Regions from separate parts of the Homo sapiens genome. Here regions 1, 3, 4, 5 and 6 are each linked to region 2. Evidence: promoter capture Hi-C in 16 types of primary human blood cells and fetal thymus (Javierre and others, 2016). All regions are on one chromosome and are shown on one strand. The core of a region is centred on a gene start or on the middle of the fragment in contact, and the rest is flanking DNA. Distances in the headings are between cores, read along the strand shown.

Region 1 (2,946 bases), core at 40-2,539, 510 kb after region 2:
ATTAAAATGCTAAACTATCACCTAACTGTGTCATTTGGCTACATCTACAAGAAGCTGACTGTAAGAAACAGAAAACTGTGAACCAGAGAAATTTAAGAAATTCCGTTAATGCAAAGTAAAGATTATTTGTAATTGTTACGAACATAAATTGTGAAAATTCTGTATTATTCATTATGCTAATATTTTATTCCATCTTCTTGCTTTCTATTATAGACATGGGGAATCAGAAAAGTTTAATGTTGATAGGGACCCAAAAGAAATCCCAGTTATAAGCCCCTAATTTACAGATGAAATAATGAAGTTCAAATAAAAGTTAGATACTGTTCCCAAGTGTATTCACCGTGAGAATGGCAAAGCAAGGACTCAAGTCTCTTGAATCTCTGTCCAGGGTTGTTTTCATATAATAATATGATGAAACATTCATGGATCATAAATGATAGTATGTGTTGCAGGAAGTCAGGGATCCTGAATGGAGGGACCAGGTGGAGCCGCAGCAAAGGAACATAAATTCTGAAGATTTCATGGACATTTACCAGTTCCCAAATAATACTTTCATAATTTCTTACCCCTGTCTTACTTTAATCTCTTAATCCTGTTATTTTTATAAGCTAAGGATGTACATCACATCAGGGCCACTATGATAATTGTGATAACTGTACAAATTGATTGTAAAACATGTATGTTTGAACAATATGAAATAAGTGCACCTTGAAAAAGAACAGAATAACAGCGATTTTAGGGAACAAGGGAAGACAACCATAAGGTCTGACTGCCCGCAGGGTCGGGCAAAATAGAGCCATATTTTTCTTCTTGCAGATAGCCTATAAACGGACATGCAAGTAGGGAAGATATTGCTAAATTATTTTCCTAGCAAGGAATATTAATAATTCATACCCTGGGGAAGGAATGCATTCCTGGTGGGAGGTCTATACATGGCCACTCTGGGAGTGTCTGTCTTATGCCGTTGAGATAAAGACTGAAATACGCCCTGGTCTCCTGCAGTACCCTCAGGCTTACTAGGATTGGGCAACTCCACCCTGGTAAATTTGAGGTCAGACTGGATCTCTGCTCTCAAACCCTCTTTTCTGTTGTTTAAGATGTTTATCAAGACAAAACGTGCACTGCTGAACATAGACCCTTATCAGTAATTCTGCTTTTGCCCTTTGCCTTGTGATCTTTGCTGGACCCTTATCAGGAGTCTGTGATTTTGCCCTTGTCCTGTTTCCTCAGAAGCATGTGATTTTTGTTCTCCTTTTTACCCTTTGAAGCATGTGATCTTGTGACCTTACTCCCTGTTCTTACACCCCCTCCCCTTTTGAAATCCTTAATAAAACTTGCTAGTTTTGCAGCTCAGGTGGGCAATCACGGTCCTACCAATATGTGATGTCACCCCCGGAGGCCCAGCTGTAAAATTCCTCTCTTTGTACTCTTTATTTCTCAGCCAGCCAATACTTATGGAAAATAGAAAGAAACTACGTTGAAATACTGATACTAAAACTCAAATGGAAGCACTGACTCATTCAAAGTTACATAATCTACATCAGTAACATAATTTTACCTATTACTGATGTCAGTATAGCTCCAGTACATGAGGCAAGCATTTGTTGAAGAGGTGTCACTTTGATAATCTCTTGTCCCCTTGTCTCAGGATCCATATTTTTAACTAATTAAATAAAAACCTGTTAAAAAGAAAACATAAAATTAGAGCACATCCTCTGATCTTTCAAAAATGATAACATCCTTCAGCTAAGCTGGGTGAGCAGCATCACATTAGTAAGACAACTAAGAGAGAATTAACCAAACAGATACTGACAGAATGAAAGCAGGTGACCACTAAGTCTGAGTCTGTGAACTCAGCCTCATACACACTACTAAAAAAACCTCCCCAATAGAGTACAGAGGTATCAGCAAATACAGCCCTTTATTGTATACCAGTAGTTGTTGTACAGATGTAAAATAAAAACACATAACCTTAATAAGTTTTATCTTACAAAAATTTGATGAGAAAAGCAACATAAAAACATAAAAAGTTTTAAAAAGTCAGATAATACAGAACAGTATAAAAATAACTTATGAACTTACTATTCAAAAATAATCACCGGCCAGGCGTGGTGGCTCACACCTGTAACCCCAGCACTTTTGGAGGCCGAGGCGGGCGCATCATGAGGTCGGGAGATCGAGACCAACCTGGCTAACATGGTGAAATCCTGTCTCAACTAAAAATACAAAAAATTAGCCAGGTGTCTGTAGTCCCAGCTACTCGGGAGGCTGAGGCAGGAGAATGGCGTGAACCCAGGAGGCGGAGCTTGCAGTGAGCCGAGATCGCACCACTGCACTCCAGCCTGGGCAACAGAGCAAGACTCTGTCTCAAAAAAAAATAATAATAATAATCACCAGCAACAGGAATGTCATCTTTCCAAATGTCTATGAACATACACACATACATATGTATATGTCTATACACACACATTACATCTAACCAAATATTGTATATTAATCAAACACACGTACACTTATGTGTCCGTGTACATACAGCTTTTCTGAAAAACAGGTCAATACTATTTTGCTTGTTTAGTAGGCTGCTTTAACACTTAAAAACACATTATAGACATTGTGTCAATAAAAACAGATTTACATTTTTATTGCTTGCACGGTAGTTAATTATATTTATTTAATCAGTTTCAGATTGTTAGATATCAGGTTGTTGCCAATTTCCAAACTATAAAATATTCTGCTATAACATTCTTATACATACATATATATATTTTTGTAACCTTCCTACAATTACTGTAGGAAAGATAGTAAGATTGATGGGATAAGCTATTTTAAAACTTGATACAGGGCCAGGTGTGGTGGCTCACACCTGTAATCCTAGCACTTTGGGAGGCCAAGGCAGGTGGATTACCTGAGGTCAGGAGTTTGAGACCAGCCTGGCCAACATGGTGA
Region 2 (3,190 bases), core at 400-2,899:
CTAAAACATCTTCCTTACCAGCCAATATCTCCCGCTCCACTCTAAGAAATGCAAACTCGTTCAAGTTTAACCTGAATGCAACATAATTTGGAATCTTTCATTAAAATATATATCACACATTTTGAAGCCAAACATATTTTAAAATACCTGTTTTTGGTGATTTGGGGTACATATGCTTATCAGTATAACATATTTTAAAAGATTTTTTTCTACATACTCAAATCTGTGTTCCATTCATTTTTTCACTCCCACACCTTTTTGTCTATCCGATAATTCAGGAATCTTTACAGAAACATCTTGTTTCCATTGAAATAAACAACAAGAGTAGGAAAAAGAGTGAAGCGAAATGGTTCTAAATTCTATGCACCAACAGGCATTAAACATGCATAAACTTTTAAAGAGATGCCAAGACTCACTAAAAAGGAGAAAAAAAATACAACGAAGGTTTCTGAGTAGTTTTTAGTTACTCAATTTAAAAACTTTATCTTGTAAGCAAACTTTAACATCATCCAGAGCATCGCACTTATATATGAAAGAAAAAGTTCTTTATCACACCTTCAGAAATTACAACTACAAATTCCTAATCCCTTATTTAAAATCTTTTTGGCTAGATATGTTTCAAAATTCAGAACTTTTCTTAGAATAGTACGTCTGCCATATATTATGAAACACTTCCAGCAAGCTGTACTGTAATCAAACACAATATTTCTGTAGAAAACTTATGAATATTTACACAAAGGGAACATTCAGTTACACATAGCCTCACTTCCCTTCAGGTCAAACTTTACTGCTAAAGGAGTTAGAAACGACAGACAAAGGAATGGGGCCTGTCATGACATGTTAATTTGAAATCTAAATCTTTATCTTTGATAACTAGTTCAGAGTCAGTGTAAACATTTGGTCTTTCCTTCCACAAAAAAATGAAACAGTGTATTTAAAATTAAAAATGAAACAGTATATTTTATTTCAGAAGGTAAAAGCAAAATGAATTAATCTGTGAAACTAAGTCAATCACATTATGATCTTCTAGAACTTGGGTAGCTCCACTCTGGTTAAAGATTCCATTTCTTGGCACAACAGTAAAAGACATCAGATAGGCCCGGGGGTAAGCATCCCTGGGGTATTCAAATAACTTGGGTAGCAATGAAGAGCTGCAGAAGAGCAAGGAGACCCGAGATGATGTAGTGTGCTGCGGCATACCTGAGTTGGGCAAACTCAGCCTCCGAAGATTAAAGGAAAGAGCCCAAGTAGGAATCTGTGTGATCACTGTTCTTTTGCCAAGACACGGGGTGGACAATAAGATTCCTTTACAAAGCACTGGTGTAAGTGTTCGCCTGGTGCTGCAAAAAGCGGCTCACTGGGAATGGGGAGGAGCGTGTGGTAAGCCAGACCTGCGGCGAGAAGTTGGGTGAAAATGGGTCTTAACCATCGCTTCCTGCATCTATCCCAGAGGGTTGGGTACCTTCGTGGGCGGAGCGCGGCCTGCCCAGAGTGCCTTCTAGATCCTGGGTCAGGCGCCAAGCTCCCCAGCATCATGCAGGAAGCTGCAGCCCCGCAGAGTTAGGACAGCTCATTTGGCACCCGGCGAGCCCTTCCCAGGCCCGCAGCCCAGAATAGAGCCGGGGCCCAAGACGCCCACTGGAGACAGGGTCGGGTCCCACTACCGCGCAGGCCCGGCTCGCCCCCGACGTCAGGCACGGGGCGGGACCCTTGCAGCTGTCCGTCCAGTCCCGTTCCCCGGAAAGTGAGGGGCGGGACCCTCGCGGCTTTCTATCCAATCCTGTTCCCCGGCGAATGCGGGGCGGGACCCTAGCGGCCTTCAGTCCAATTCCCGCACCTTTGAGGCCCAAGGGGGAGCGAGCCGGTGCTGCTGCAGGCTGAGGCTGCGGCAGAGGCGGCGAGGCGCGGGCGGTGAGGACGGACAGGTCCGTTGAAGCAGCATTCCCTCCCTCCCCTAATCCTTCAACTCGGGGGCGGGGGAAAGTTAAGTCGTGCAGAACCGCAAAGGTGCCTGGATTTGGTGGGGGAGTAGTGTCATCAAGCATCTCGCCTGCTGGGGTCTCAGGGGTACCCTCAAGGTTGGGCCGCGGGGCTGCTCCGTTGTAGTGCTTAGATTTCTCTCACTTGATGGCCTCTTGAGTGCAGAGTTGCTCTTGGGTTGGTGGGAAGAGCCTCCGAGCTCTCATTGCCCTCTGCTCCTGCTTCTACCCCTTGCCACTCTGCGACGAACCTGTTACCCAGCCACTGAAAACGTATCCTCTACCCTTTGAACCCGTCTAATGGAAGGTGTACTTGTCTGAAACCTACTTAATTGTATGATCATTTACTCCTGCTCTCTAGCAGGTGGACTATTTGCGTGTGTTTGCAGTGATTCACGAAAAGTTTGTCTTGGGAACTCCCAACTCCTAGTTTGTCTGCATTCCACCTTCTTTCACTAGCTTGTTCATTTCTTTTTCCCTCTTAAATATTTGTTAAGCTTGTTTCTTTCTTCCCACAGTCACCGACTTAGTCCAGTTCCCTGTGATCTCAAAACAATTGTTGCAGCAGGCTCCTGGCAGTCTCAAGCAGTTCATCTTCTTGGTGTACTGGTATGTGACAATTCCTTCACGTATTGTTCGTGGTTCTTTTCCACTTTCTGTGAATTCATATCTAATTGCCCCCAGAAAGTCAATTCTAATTAAATCTAGCATAATCATTTTCTTAGTGCTATTGGAACCATCTTATTTAACTTAATCTTTGTGGTTGAGAATTCAAGAAAACTCTTCAAGAAAGAATCCAATAATTTATATTTTTAATGTGTACCGGTTGGTGGGTTAAGCACTATAGTGGGTATGTAACTAATACTCTTGCTTCCAGTTTTCTAGAGTCTATTAAGTGGCACAGAGGTAAACAGAATAGCTTATCTTCTCTGTATGTGTGTACTAGTCTTCTATTGCTGCCTTAACCAATTACACAAATGCAACAATTAAAACAACACAAATGTATTATCTCATAGCTTCTGTAAATGTGAAGTTTGGGTGGGCTTAGCTGAGTACTTGGCTTAGAATTTCACAAAACCGAAACCAAGGTTTCTGTAGATTTGGATTCTTTTCTGGAGGCTCTAGGGGAGAATCCACCTCCAGGCTATTTCAGATTGTTGGTAGAATTCACACTGACATTTCTATATCCTTACTGTTTGTCAGCCTGAGCC
Region 3 (3,107 bases), core at 495-2,994, 590 kb after region 2:
ATGCCCATTCACCCCTACCTTCTAGAAAAGGTGTCCTCCTCCGACTTTCTTTATTGGTAGCAGTTCTCTTGGTTTAATTAGGGCTGTGCTGTTTGTTGAGCATTTATAAATTATGTTTTTAAAAATCTAGTTTTTATCACTGTATCTGTATTTAAATCAAGATCACACATTCACAGATATGCCTGAAAATTACTGTGAATTTATTGACAAATTTAAGTAAATACTTCTGGGGCTGTGTATTTTTTTATTTCTACACATCAGCTGATCAGGCAGTTCACCCACCTGTAAGTCCATATTAAGATAGGACTTGTTCATGTACTTGAAAATTTTTGTAAACTTTACTGAAGCAATGGCAAGCCAAACCTTTTCACATGTATAAATATATTCATCAGTGCTTTAAGATATATCTTGATGATGTGATAATTATACTAACTTATCTGTATGTGTGAAATATGTAAAAATAGAAAATATTACTTAAATCTGTATTTGTAGCCAAGTAGTTGGTACTGTTAACATTTTGTTAATAGAAGGTGGGAAATTAGCTTAAAGGGCTACATAATATCCATCAAAGATTATTTTAGTAGAAAATCCCAATATGTTAAGCTTTTAATGATGGATTCTTTTATGTGAATTAATGGTTGGTAAATGCCTATTTTCCTTTTCCATTTTGACTCGTTTCAATGGTAAAACTGAAGAAGCAGGGGCCATAGTTTCCCTATGTCATCGTATTTTTCAATTAATTAAGATTATTTCTGTGGAAGGATATTTTCACACCATTTGCAACCTTTTATTATAAAAAATTTCAAACACAAAAGAGTAGGATAAATTAATGAACCCCCAGCTCCAACAATTAGCAACTCATGGCCAATCTTGTTTTGTCTATACCCTACGTATTTCTTTTTCTATTTCCTTTCCCTCTCTATATTGTATTGAAGCAAATCATATCATTTCATTCATAAAAATTATAGGAATTTACCACTAAACAGTAAGGATTCTTTTAAAAATGCAACCATGTTACTGTATTTTCAAAAATTAGGAGTAATTTCTTACTACTATCAAATATCCTGTTTTTCAAATTTCCAGTTCTCGTAAATATGTATGTATATATGTATATGTATGTGTGTGAATGTTTATATGTGTGTGTATATATATTATATATATATATATAGAGAGAGAGAGTATATTTAGAGTATATATTTAAGTAAGTTTGTCTGGACCAGGACCCAGATAATGTCTGTAGATTGCAATTAGTTTATTTATTTATTTTTTGTGACAGGGTCTCACTCTGTCACCCAGACAGGAGTGCAGTAGCACGATTATGGCTCACAGCAGCCTTGACCTCTTGGGCCCCAGTGATCCTTCCACCTCAGCTTCCTGAGTAGCTTGGATTACAGGCATGTGCCACCTTATCTGGCTAATTAAAAATTTGTTTTTGTAAAGATGGGATTTCACCATGTTGCGCAGGCTGGCCTTGAACTCCTGGGCTCAAATCATCTGCTGGCCTCGGCCTCCCAAAATGCTGGGATTACAGGTGTGAGTTGTGGGGGCCTAGCCTGTTTTTCTGTTTTCTAAAAGGTCTTTTAATGTGTGGTTCTTTCCCCTCTATTTCTTTTTTTTCCCCTTGCAATTTTTTCAGTGAAGACATGGAGTCTTTCATCTTGTAGAGTTGCTCAGAGTCAAGATTTTGCTGTTGTAGCCAGTGCTTTAAAACAATTCACAAAGACTTTCTAGGAGAGGAAGAGAGACTGAGGGAAGAAGAGATACAGAAAAAGAAAATGACAGGATTGAACCTGGAAACTCACAGAATCTCTGACTCATGCTGGAAATGTCTTTGGGTACCTCTTGCCTTTTCTGTGTTGGTGAAAGACCACCACTTTTGAAAAGTGGAGGAGGTCAGTCCTCCTTTTCTCCCCATTTATGGAGCACCACTTGTGCAGTTTTTTGATTCACAGGAGTCTTGACTTGGGGTGGAAAGCTATTTTGGGTTCATAGAGCTTCTACTCCCTATAGCAATAAACATCACAATAGAGAAGAATGACTGGTTTTTGGTGAAGTATGAATGAATTGGTAGGATTTAGGTTTAAAAGTATGAATAGATGATTAATTCAAGTCAGAAATGAAAGCAATGATACCATCTTATAGTAATTATTACAAAACGTTATCCCAGTGCCTGGGATATGTGTACATAGTAAGGTACACATAGTACATGTTGATGTCTCTATCACTTGGGAGCCACTGCACTTTACCATGCTGCTTAAACTACAGGTGGAAATCATTGACAACTAGGACCAAATCTGACAAAATTTTAAAGACCTGTTTATCTTAGGCCAACTTTTCCTACAGTTAGGAAACAGAGGAGTTTTCTTGCACTATTGGCATTTCTAGTTTCCCTAAGAGCAATCATTGGATTGAAAAACATAAGTTGATTTTTTATGGCCCTTGTTATTTCTCTAATACTTAAATAGTTCTAATTTATGGCATTTTAATTTTAGATACCCATAGATTTTTTTTTTTTTTTTTTTTTTTTTTTGTGAGATGGAGTCTTGCTCTGTCACCCAGGCTGGAGTGCAATGGCGTGATCTCAGCTTATTGCAACCTCCACCTCCTGGGTTCAAGCGATATTCCTGTCTCAGCCACCTGAATAACTGGGATTACAGGCACCCACCACCATGCCCAGCTAATTTTTGTATTCTTAGTAGAGACAGGGTTTCACCATTTTGGCCAGGCTGGTCTAGAACTCCTGACCTCAAGTGATCCTCCCACCTCGGCCACCCAAAGTGCTGGGATTACAAACATGAGCCACCATGCCTGGCCACCCATAGATATGTTTATCAACTTCCTTTCTACTTCATAAATAAAATCAGGGTGATTTTCTGTGAACTCAAAAAGCTTATATAGATTTGTTGATTTGTTTCTTTAAAAGGCATTTATTTATTTATTTTATTTATTTTTTTCTTTTGAGATGGAGTCTCACTCTCTTGCCCAGGCTGGATGGAGTGCAGCGGCACAATCTCAACTCATGGCAAGGTCCACCTCCCTGGTTCAAGCGATTCTCCTGCCTCAGCCTCCCAAGTAGCTGGGACTACAGGCGCGTGCCACCACACCTG
Region 4 (3,102 bases), core at 599-3,098, 570 kb after region 2:
TGTGATGGATTATATTAATGGGAATTAAAATGTTGTACCAAATTTCCCTACCTAGAATAAATCCTTCTTGGTACATGTGACTAACACTCTTTTCTTACATTTTTGGGTACAATTTGCTAATATGTCATTGAAGAGTTTGCATCTATGTTGATGAGACATATTGTCTGTAGTTTTCCTCTGTTTTTGGTGTTAGGGTAATGCTGGTCACATAGAATGAGTTAGGATATATTCTCTTGGCTTCTATTTCCTGGAAGAGGTTACAAAGAATTTGGTATAATTTATTCTTAAAAATATTGGTAGAATTCACTAGTGAAACAACCTGGGCCTGGTGCTTTTCGTTTTGGAAAGTTATAAATTATTTATTTATTTATTTACTTTTTGAGACGGAGTTTCACTCTTGTCGCCCAGGCTGGAGTCCAGTGGCATGATCTCGGCTCACTGCAACCTCCGTCTCCCGGGTTCAAGTGATTCTCCTGCCTCAGCCTCCCAAGTAGCTGGGATTACAGGTGCCCATCGCCATGCATGGCTAATTTTTGTATTTTTAGTAGAGAAAGGGTTTCACCATATTGGCCAGGCTGATCTCAAACTCCTGACCTCAAGTGATCTTCCTGTTTCAGCCTCCCAAAGTGCTGGTATTACAGGCATGAACCACTGTGCCCGGCCTGATTCAATTTATTTAATAGACATAGGCCTATTTCGATTATCTATTTCTCCTTGTGTAAGCTTTGGTATAGTATGTCTTTCAAGGAATCAGTCCATTTCAGCTAGGTTATCAAATTTGGAGACTTAATGTTGTTTATGATAGTTCTTTATTATCCTTTTAAAGTCAATGGGATCAATAGTCATAGCTTGTCTTTCATTTCTGATATTAATAATTTGTGTCTTCTCTTTCTTTTCTTTGTTGACGTGGCTGGAAGTTTGGCAATTTTATTGATATTTTCCAAAACTAGTTGTTGGTTTTATTGATTTTCTCTTTTGATTTCCTATTTTCAATTTAATTGATTTCTGTTCTAATTTTGGTTATTTTTTTCTGCTGCTTACTTGGAATTTAATTTGCCCTTCTTTTTCTAGTTCCCTAAGGTAAACACATATTATTTATTTTAAATATTTATTGTTTTCTAATATATGCATTCAATGCTATACATTTCCCTCTAAGTACTCACTGCACCTCCAAAATTCTGGTAAGTTGTATTTTCATTTTGATTTAGTTCAAAATATTTTAACATTTCTCTTGAGATTTCTTCTCTAACCCATATGTTAATTAAAAGTGTGTTGATAATATCCAAGTATTTTTGAGGTTTTCCAGCTATCATTCTGTTATTGATTTGTAGTTTAATTCAATTGTATAGAAATACAGCCATGTGCCGCATAATGATGTTTCACTCAATGATGAACCACATATATGATGGTAATCCCATAAAATTATAATAGAGCTGAAAAATTCCTATCATCTACTGACATCATAGCTGCCATAATTTTGTAGCACAATTACTTAAATTTTTAATGTTTAGTGCAGCCTAAGTGTACAGTGTTTATAAAGTCTACAGTAGTACATAATAATGTCCTAGGCCTTCACATTCACTCACCACTCACTCACTGACTCACCCAGAGCAACTTTGAGTCCTGTAACCTCCATTCATAGTAAGTACCCTATATAGGTGTACCATTTTTTATCTTTCACATTGTATTTTTACTGTACCATTTCTATGTTTAGATACATAAATATTTACCAATGTATTATAACTGCCTACAGTATTCAGTACAATAACATGATAAACAGGTTTACAGCCTAGGAGCAATAGGCTATACCATGTAGCCTAGGTGTGTAGTAGGCTATACCATCTAGGTTTGTGTAAGTACACTCTATGATATTGTTACATTAATGATGTTGCCTAAGGGTATATTCCTCAGAATGTATCCCCATCATTAAGCAATGCATGACAAGAGATAAAGATCTATACATGAAATAGGCAAGACGTGGCCTGTAGGACACTACTTCAAACATACTCCAAGGAAACTATTTCCCTATTCTCAACCCCCACCCCCACACACATCTCAGAGAAACTGTATTTCCTTTAAACATGTTATCTTTTCAGCATCTTTGCTTTTTACCATTATCATATCTTAGTATATTTATGGATTGCTGCTAGTTCTTAGCAATACAGAAAATAAAAAGTATCTTTTATGTGCAAGATTATACTTAAAAACTTATTTGTTACAAACATAATTTAATTTGTTTTGCTGGCTTAGAAATTATAAAGGCCATAACATTTTAGCTTTTTATACAAACACATTTATATGCATTCATTCTTTCTGGCCAGAATATACATTCATATTTCAAATAGGATTTTTTTAAGTTTCTAAGAACATTTTTTAAACAATGAAAACTTCATATTTTCAGGAGAAGGAAGAGACTCAGTGACATTAATTAGGGAAGAACATTAACCTTCAGCCTCTTATATTGCAATTTCATTTTTGAATTGCCCAACTGATGCCACTGCAAATTCTGCGAGACAGGCAAAAAACTGAGTTCCCAAAGTGTGAGAGGGGAAAACCTGCCTCCGAACACATATCCCTACTGGCGAATATGAAAATCCAGATTACGGAAGAAAGATTTAACCTTATCTAGAGCTGAAACACATTTAGAGAGCTGTGTAAAATATAAAAGTAGAAGCAGCAGCAAGAGCCTTATAGGCACACCCAGTCTCCAGCTTGAGCCCACGGAAACTATCCCTAACTGGATTTTGCAGGGGCCCTCAGGCAAGGAAGACAGCAAAATTAGGGAGGGGTCATAGGGTGAAAGATGCTTCCAGTGAAATTCTGTAATAATTTCAAATGGGTATGAACTATCTTGAACAGAATCCGGGGGGTGAATGGGGAACTGCTGCAGATACAAGTGCAGGAGGCTTCACCAACATTGTGAGCAGACGGAGAGGAGCAAGGCCTAAAAGTCAAGTTTGCTTTCTCACCTGGGAAGCTTACAGCATGGGGAAAGGGCTGAGTTCCATGCACAGGCTTCCTGCATCTAACTAAACTTGGCCCTGTTAGCAGGACACCGCAGAGGCAAGACCAGCCTTGCCAACAACGTGAGAGTTGGGTGAG
Region 5 (3,056 bases), core at 459-2,958, 860 kb after region 2:
AAGCAGAGCTTTATGGCCTCACAGACAATATACGGAGATGATGCAATCTATAGTCACTGTGTAATATATAGCAGGCTGCTTCACATTCTGATATGTAACCTGGGCTAACTAACTTGCCATAGTTATATGTTAGGTTTGAATAATATATATTTTAACAATATTTTAAAAAATTAATAGTGAAATGAGGCTAAAGATGCTTAGAGAAAATGTTTTATTTTCATTAGTTGACAACTAGTTGTTCAGTTGAATGGTAAGTTTCACACTGCATCCTAAAATAAGACAGATACTCTGCTGGCAAGTAGAAAATAGACTAATTTCATTTTTTATCTGTTAAGCTCTCTTGATAAAAAAGGCAAACCAGGCCAGTTTTAAATTTAAGAAACAGAAACATTGTCAGTGCTTCTTGTATCAACACACTTCATATTCAGAACTACTCCCAAGAGATAACATATTATCTCCTTTTCAAAGATGGGGAAACTGAAACTGGGCATTATCTATAATGACCAAACCACATAGTAAGAGGCACAAGCCAGCATTAGAATTCAGATCTTACTTGAAAGTGTACAGCTTAAAATTTTTTAAAAAATTCCTTCCATTATAAATGTAGTACCTGCTTACTGGAGAATGTTTGGAAAAGCAGTAAGAAGGAAGAAGATGAACTCATGATCCTGACTCCCAGTGGTAGCCAGATCAATGTTTTGGTACATACTTTCCGATACTCTGCTATGTGTATTTTTTAAAGTGTGAATACATGGTATATCAAAATGGATGTATCAGTATTTTAAAAACTAAAATCTGATTTTAAAAGGAAAGCATATAGAAAATCTGAAAAATACTGATATAAAGAAAATTAAAGTCATCTAGAATTCCATTCATCCAAAATAAACATTGTTAATATTTCCATATATTCCCTTAGTCTTTTTCTATCAATTTTCTTTTTATATAGTTAAGCTTATAATGTACAAGATTTTTAAGGAGAGTTAACAAAGGTTTAAATAGATGACAAAAAGGGACTTGGTGACAGATAGTATTTGCCAATCAAATTATTCAACAGGTTTTGAAGGGCGTGTGCTAAACTTCTAAGGTGAATCCTGACGTGGATTACTGGATTACCTTTTTTGTTGTTTTATTTCACCCAAGTGCGTCTATGTCATTTACCTAAGTTTTTATGTGTGGAGTATTCTTTGTAGGAGAGGAAAGATAACAGCTGTAGTCTGATTAACAGTTTTTAGTGTCTCACAATGAAAAATAAATAATGTGACTTAAACATTTTGCATACTTAAATTTACATAGAGTTTTAGCAAGAAAATAAGGCATGACTGATAATGGCTCAGGAAAGTTCTAAATGGTGTAACAGACTAGATCTTATTAAAGTTCCAAAGAATTTATTATCAAAACTAAAACAAAACTTCAGTTGTACATAAAGTAATAAACTTTACAACAGCTGTTAAGAGAAAGTCGTGATGTAAGTTTATACATATTACCGAAGGCAAAGAGGACAAGCAAAGGAGAGCTCCAGTTGGAATGTTGATTACATTCATGCAGCTTCCTCTTGATTTAAACACTCATGACACATTGAATGAACTGAAAGAAAAATCAGCATTATATGACAGACCTCAAAGCACTTATACGGCACAGCCTATTTCTGGCAGCTTACATTTGGTTTTCTAATTTGAACACGGGTAAAACAACCCCTACAACTTTCTAAGATATGAGTAAATGATAGATGGAAAAGTTTCCTTTTTTTAGGGAAGCAGTCTAATATAAAATCCACAGGGTTTCTCACATCAAAACTTCTTAGAGAAAGCAGATATAACTTCAATGGATAAATAATTTAAATAATTATTTGAATAATTATTTAAATTCCAAATAATATCCAAGACTAGAAATGGCCGTGGTCAAAGACACTTACCACAAACACAAACAACTGGAGTTTATACTGTTGTATTACGTGGGGATTTCCAAACCACACAGTATTACCCCATTACTCTAATGGAACACCTTAAACAGTTTATTGCCTTAAAATCTGCTTTATTAAAACAAATTGTAGCATGCAAGTGTATGTATGCACAGAAACAGAACAGCTAACCCTTCAGATACCTGAGATTAGAAATACCAGTATTTGCTGTGAAATGTTGGCTTCCCCGCTAAACATAAAGCAATAGATTCTGCTCTATCAGTGTTCCCTACACTACTAAGGTATTGTGCACTGCTAACCCTTGCAGCTCTATTGCAAGGTCAAGGTGATTATCCCTATTTTAGAGAAAAGGAAAATAAGGATCAGGATGTTTAGAAATCTTTTAAGTAGCCCCATCTGAAGTCAAAGCCCATGGTCTTTCTTTCCATTCCCCAGGCAGCCTTCTGATCTTTAGAAACAGCAAGGGGACTGTCAACTAAGAAGTTAACGCATGTTAAAGAGAACACACCCTTAAGCAGGTAAAATAAGCATATTCACACACACATACTAAGCTTTTAAAAGTGTACTTATAACTGCAGCAGCTGCTAAACCAAAAATACATGCATCTTATATTTTGTAATGGAGAATGGAATATTCAGTGATTACAGTCATTTCAATTCTACAAGTTTTTTTGTTTGTTTGTTTTTTGTTTTTAAATCAATGGCTGAGCAAAAACTGAAGAAACAAGTAACCAATCTCTCTAGCTTTGTTATATACATCCAGCTAATGCCATCAAAGATGGCACTAGGTTATGTTCACACTGATTACATGGCCTTACCCTACCCTTGTTTAGTTTGGCTGTTTAGTAAATAACTTGTTTTAAATTGTGATTTAGCCGGGAGCAGTGGCTCACGCCTGTAATCCCAGCACTTTGGGAGGCCTAAGCGGACAGATCACAAGGACAGGAGATCGAGACCATCCTGGCTAACACAGTGAAACCCCGTCTCTACTAAAAATACAAAAAAACTTAACCAGGTATGGTGGCACATGCCTATAGTCCCTCAGGAGGCTGAGGCAGGAGAATCGCTAGAACCCGAGACGTGGAGGTTGCAGTGAGCTGACATTGCGCCACTGCACTCCAACCTGGGCAACAGAGCGA
Region 6 (3,013 bases), core at 497-2,996, 550 kb after region 2:
CTTGCAGTGGCCTCTTTCCCAGGTCTTCTAGTCAGAAAGTGAGGGTTTCTCAATGTTAGCTTAAGCTTGTACTACCTTTACAATCTCAGCCTCCTAATTGGGACCCACCCTCAGGGCAGAACTGTGGGAGAAAAGAAAATAATACAGGGATTCTCTTGGTATTTTTGGCCACTTGAACCTCATTCCTGGTTCTTCCTGCCAGAAAGATAGGAGTTTTAGCTGCTGGCTCTGCCACTGCTGCTAACTCCATGACTGAAGGTTCCAGTTTTGACTTCCTTCCACAATCTGCCTGCTTATTTTACTTTTCATTCTTCAGGTAGTTGCTTATTCAGTGTTGTCCAGAGTTTCTAGTTGTAATCAGTGGAGTTGATTATCCATCTTTAACATATTGAATCTTTGCCTAAATTGACTGACTAATAAATGTTGACTAATTTCTTTATTCAATTTAATACAAAGATTTTGCTGAATAAGGGCATAAAAATAATATGACTTTTAAAAAAACATTTCATTAACTACCTTTTCATTATTGGTTTTCTTTTTATGAAGTCAAAATCAATTATAGCTAGAATGCAAGGTACTTGCTGAGTGTATTGTAAAACATTTAAAAACAATAGTTTTTTTTAACAAAGAATAATCCTTCTTTGATATAGCACTTTTCTGCATGATTTTTTTATCTTGAAGATACTGAGCAATTGCAGTTGCTGTTTTAACTGTACTTTCAAAGCCAATCTTTTCACTATATATTTTTTTTTAGGGCAAAAGAGTTGGTAGTGGTGCACAAAAAACAAGAAGTAAGTATTTTGTGATCTTTAAGTGTATTTGGTTTGCATTTGAAAAATCATAAAAGATCTTCTAAAATCATATAAACCACCCTCTAAATGATTTATTCAAGGCTTTCTTCGTCTTTATAGAACATAGATCCTTGGTGAAGTTTGGTGAAGCCTGTGGACCGCATTTTCAGAATGATGTTTTTTTTAAAACGTTTCCTTTAAAAATCATTAGTCTACCAAGAAAATGAATTATATTAAAATGTAGTTACCAAAATAGTTTTTAATTGTGAAATAGTGATAACTTGCTTTTTATTACACAGAACAGATTCTAGCAGTGAATCTAATTGCCACTTCATTTTGAATTGATAAGCGTAAACAATGCTTTGAGATATCTGCTCAAGCAGTTCATAACTGATGAAAATATGTGCAGTTTCTATTAGCATCAAAGTCGCAGGTACTGCGAATAGTGTGATTTGTTACATTTATAATTGAAGGAAATGCTAAATTTCAGTTTGAGGTTAGTGAAGACAATAGTGTAGTTTTTCTCCTGTTCTAATTTATGACCTTCCTGAATCCTGTTAATTTGAGGGTTCCATTTAGTTTAAGAATCTCAGAATATAGGAGAGAGCTTCTGTTATTTTTGGAAATGAGGTGATAATGGAAGTACCTCATCTGAGGCTTAAAACTTTAAAGTGGATACATAGTTTTTTGTTTGGAGGGTTTTGTTTTGCCACAGTAGTTTTATTAAAAAAAAAAAAGAATCCTGAATTTGCAAGTATCTAATATGTTTTCTATGTTCTCAAGCAGGAAGACTCAAAAAGCCTTTTGTAAAGGTGGAAGATATGAGCCAGTAAGTATTTAAGTCCAATCTGTATGATTTAAGTGCAATACTAAAGAGGAAAATCACCTAACTAATTAGGCTAGCTCGATTAGTACTGTTAGGTTCCTTTGTGTTTGATTTATATTATACTAATGTGCATGCGGCACAAGTTAACGAAAGTAGCATTAATTCATTTGTGCTCAAGGACTGAATTTAGTTTCAGTATGTTGTAGATATTCCTGAAATAGCTGGTTTAGAAAAATCATGACACCGTTTTTTTAGTATTTAAATTATTCTCTGGCTAAATGCAGTACCAAATGATTTAGAACTACTGAAAGATTACGCCTTCATTTGCGAAAAAGAAATTATTAGATGCTATTTAGAAACAGAAAATCTAAGTATAACATCTAACATGGTTGATTTCCAAAATTCTGAAGTATTGTAGGATAGTCTTGTTGTTGTTGTTGTTTGTTTTGATTTTTTGAGATGGAGTCTTGCTCTGTCACCCAGGCTAGAGTGCAGTGGCACGATCTCGGCTCACTGCAACGTCCACCCCACCCCCGGTTCAAGCAATTCTCCTGCCTCAGCCTCCCAAGTAGCTGGGATTATGGGTCTACGCCACCATGCCCAGCTGATGTTTGTATTTTTAGTAGAGATGGGGTTTCACCATGTTGGCCAGGCTAGTCTCTAACTCTTGACCTCAAGTGATCCGCCTGCCTCAGCCTCCCAAAGTGCGGGGATTACAGGCGTGAGCCACTGTGCCCAGCCATGTGGGATAATCTTAATGAAGACCACAGATATAAATAGGCCTGCCATGAGAGAATTAGATTACTTTCTTTTTTCTTTCCACTTATTCATTTAGACATCTGTGGTTAATTCTCTTGGGTACTCACACTGAGGCGACAAAAGTGTATTGAAAACTGCTTTTTATGAAATGTGTTGCTGTGAAGAAAAAAGTGCAATTCAAAAGGAGGCCTAGAAAAGACACTAGTATACGAAAGGACATCCCATGTTCATGAATTGGAAGATATAATATTGTTAAGATGTTAATACCACCCAAAGTGATCTACAGATTCACTGCAATCCCTATCAAAATCCCAATGATGTTTTTTGCAGAAATAGTAAAAACGTATCCTAGAATTCATACGGAATTGTAACAGATGCAGGAAACCCAAGACAATCATTAAAAATAACAACAAAGGCCAGGCGCGGTGGCTCACTCCTGTAATCCTAGCACTTTGGGAGGCCGAGGCAGGCAGATCACGAGTTCAGGAGATGGAGACCATCCTGGCTAATACGGTGAAACCCTGTCTCTACTAAAAATATAAAAAATTAGCCGGGCCTGGTGGCGGGCACCTGTAGTCCCAGCTACTCAGGAGGCTGAGGCAGGAGAATGGCGTGAACCCGGGAGGCAGAGCTTGCA

The links. Contacts are between HindIII fragments. The CHiCAGO score rates a contact against its expected background, and 5 or more counts as called.
Region 1: a fragment that was not itself captured here is called in contact with the fragment with the promoter of TP53TG1 in region 2 in 3 of 17 cell types (neutrophils, monocytes and activated CD4 T cells); the score reaches 7.3 in neutrophils.
Region 3: a contact is called between a fragment that was not itself captured here and the fragment with the promoter of TP53TG1 in region 2, in 1 of 17 cell types (non-activated CD4 T cells). The highest score is 5.8, in non-activated CD4 T cells.
Region 4: a contact is called between a fragment that was not itself captured here and the fragment with the promoter of TP53TG1 in region 2, in 1 of 17 cell types (non-activated CD4 T cells). The highest score is 5.6, in non-activated CD4 T cells.
Region 5: a contact is called between a fragment that was not itself captured here and the fragment with the promoter of TP53TG1 in region 2, in 1 of 17 cell types (total CD8 T cells). The highest score is 6.0, in total CD8 T cells.
Region 6: a fragment that was not itself captured here is called in contact with the fragment with the promoter of TP53TG1 in region 2 in 3 of 17 cell types (neutrophils, endothelial precursors and naive CD4 T cells); the score reaches 7.7 in neutrophils.

The regions. Positions count from the first base shown.
Region 1 is chr7:87,857,073-87,860,018 of GRCh38, forward strand. SLC25A40 (solute carrier family 25 member 40) reads right to left here. Exons shown (of 12, transcript NM_018843.4): 3 at 1,559-1,679. The coding sequence starts at 1,655. Among named protein-coding and RNA genes, the nearest start is that of SLC25A40, 18 kb to the right of the region's middle. The HindIII fragment of the contact is 3,788 bases long and covers 1-2,946 here.
Region 2 is chr7:87,343,843-87,347,032 of GRCh38, forward strand. TP53TG1 (TP53 target 1) reads right to left here and starts at 1,650. Exons shown (of 3, transcript NR_015381.1): 1 at 1,201-1,650. CROT (carnitine O-octanoyltransferase) reads left to right here and starts at 1,822. Exons shown (of 18, transcript NM_021151.4): 1 at 1,822-1,925; 2 at 2,498-2,588. RefSeq lists a silencer at 1,638-1,847. The HindIII fragment of the contact is 3,653 bases long and covers 1-2,474 here.
Region 3 is chr7:87,935,705-87,938,811 of GRCh38, forward strand. The region is part of intron 2 of ADAM22 (ADAM metallopeptidase domain 22); the gene reads left to right. Among named protein-coding and RNA genes, the nearest start is that of ADAM22, 3.0 kb to the left of the region's middle. RefSeq lists an enhancer at 1-121. The HindIII fragment of the contact is 2,286 bases long and covers 602-2,887 here.
Region 4 is chr7:87,917,026-87,920,127 of GRCh38, forward strand. All of the region lies in intron 1 of LOC124901690 (a long non-coding RNA gene), which reads right to left. Among named protein-coding and RNA genes, the nearest start is that of ADAM22, 16 kb to the right of the region's middle. The HindIII fragment of the contact is 2,254 bases long and covers 722-2,975 here.
Region 5 is chr7:88,204,921-88,207,976 of GRCh38, forward strand. SRI (sorcin) reads right to left here. Exons shown (of 8, transcript NM_003130.4): 8 at 195-1,584. The coding sequence ends at 1,558. Among named protein-coding and RNA genes, the nearest start is that of SRI-AS1, 10 kb to the right of the region's middle. The HindIII fragment of the contact is 1,518 bases long and covers 950-2,467 here.
Region 6 is chr7:87,895,720-87,898,732 of GRCh38, forward strand. DBF4 (DBF4-CDC7 kinase regulatory subunit) reads left to right here. Exons shown (of 12, transcript NM_006716.4): 7 at 755-791; 8 at 1,575-1,620. Among named protein-coding and RNA genes, the nearest start is that of DBF4, 21 kb to the left of the region's middle. The HindIII fragment of the contact is 3,367 bases long and covers 64-3,013 here.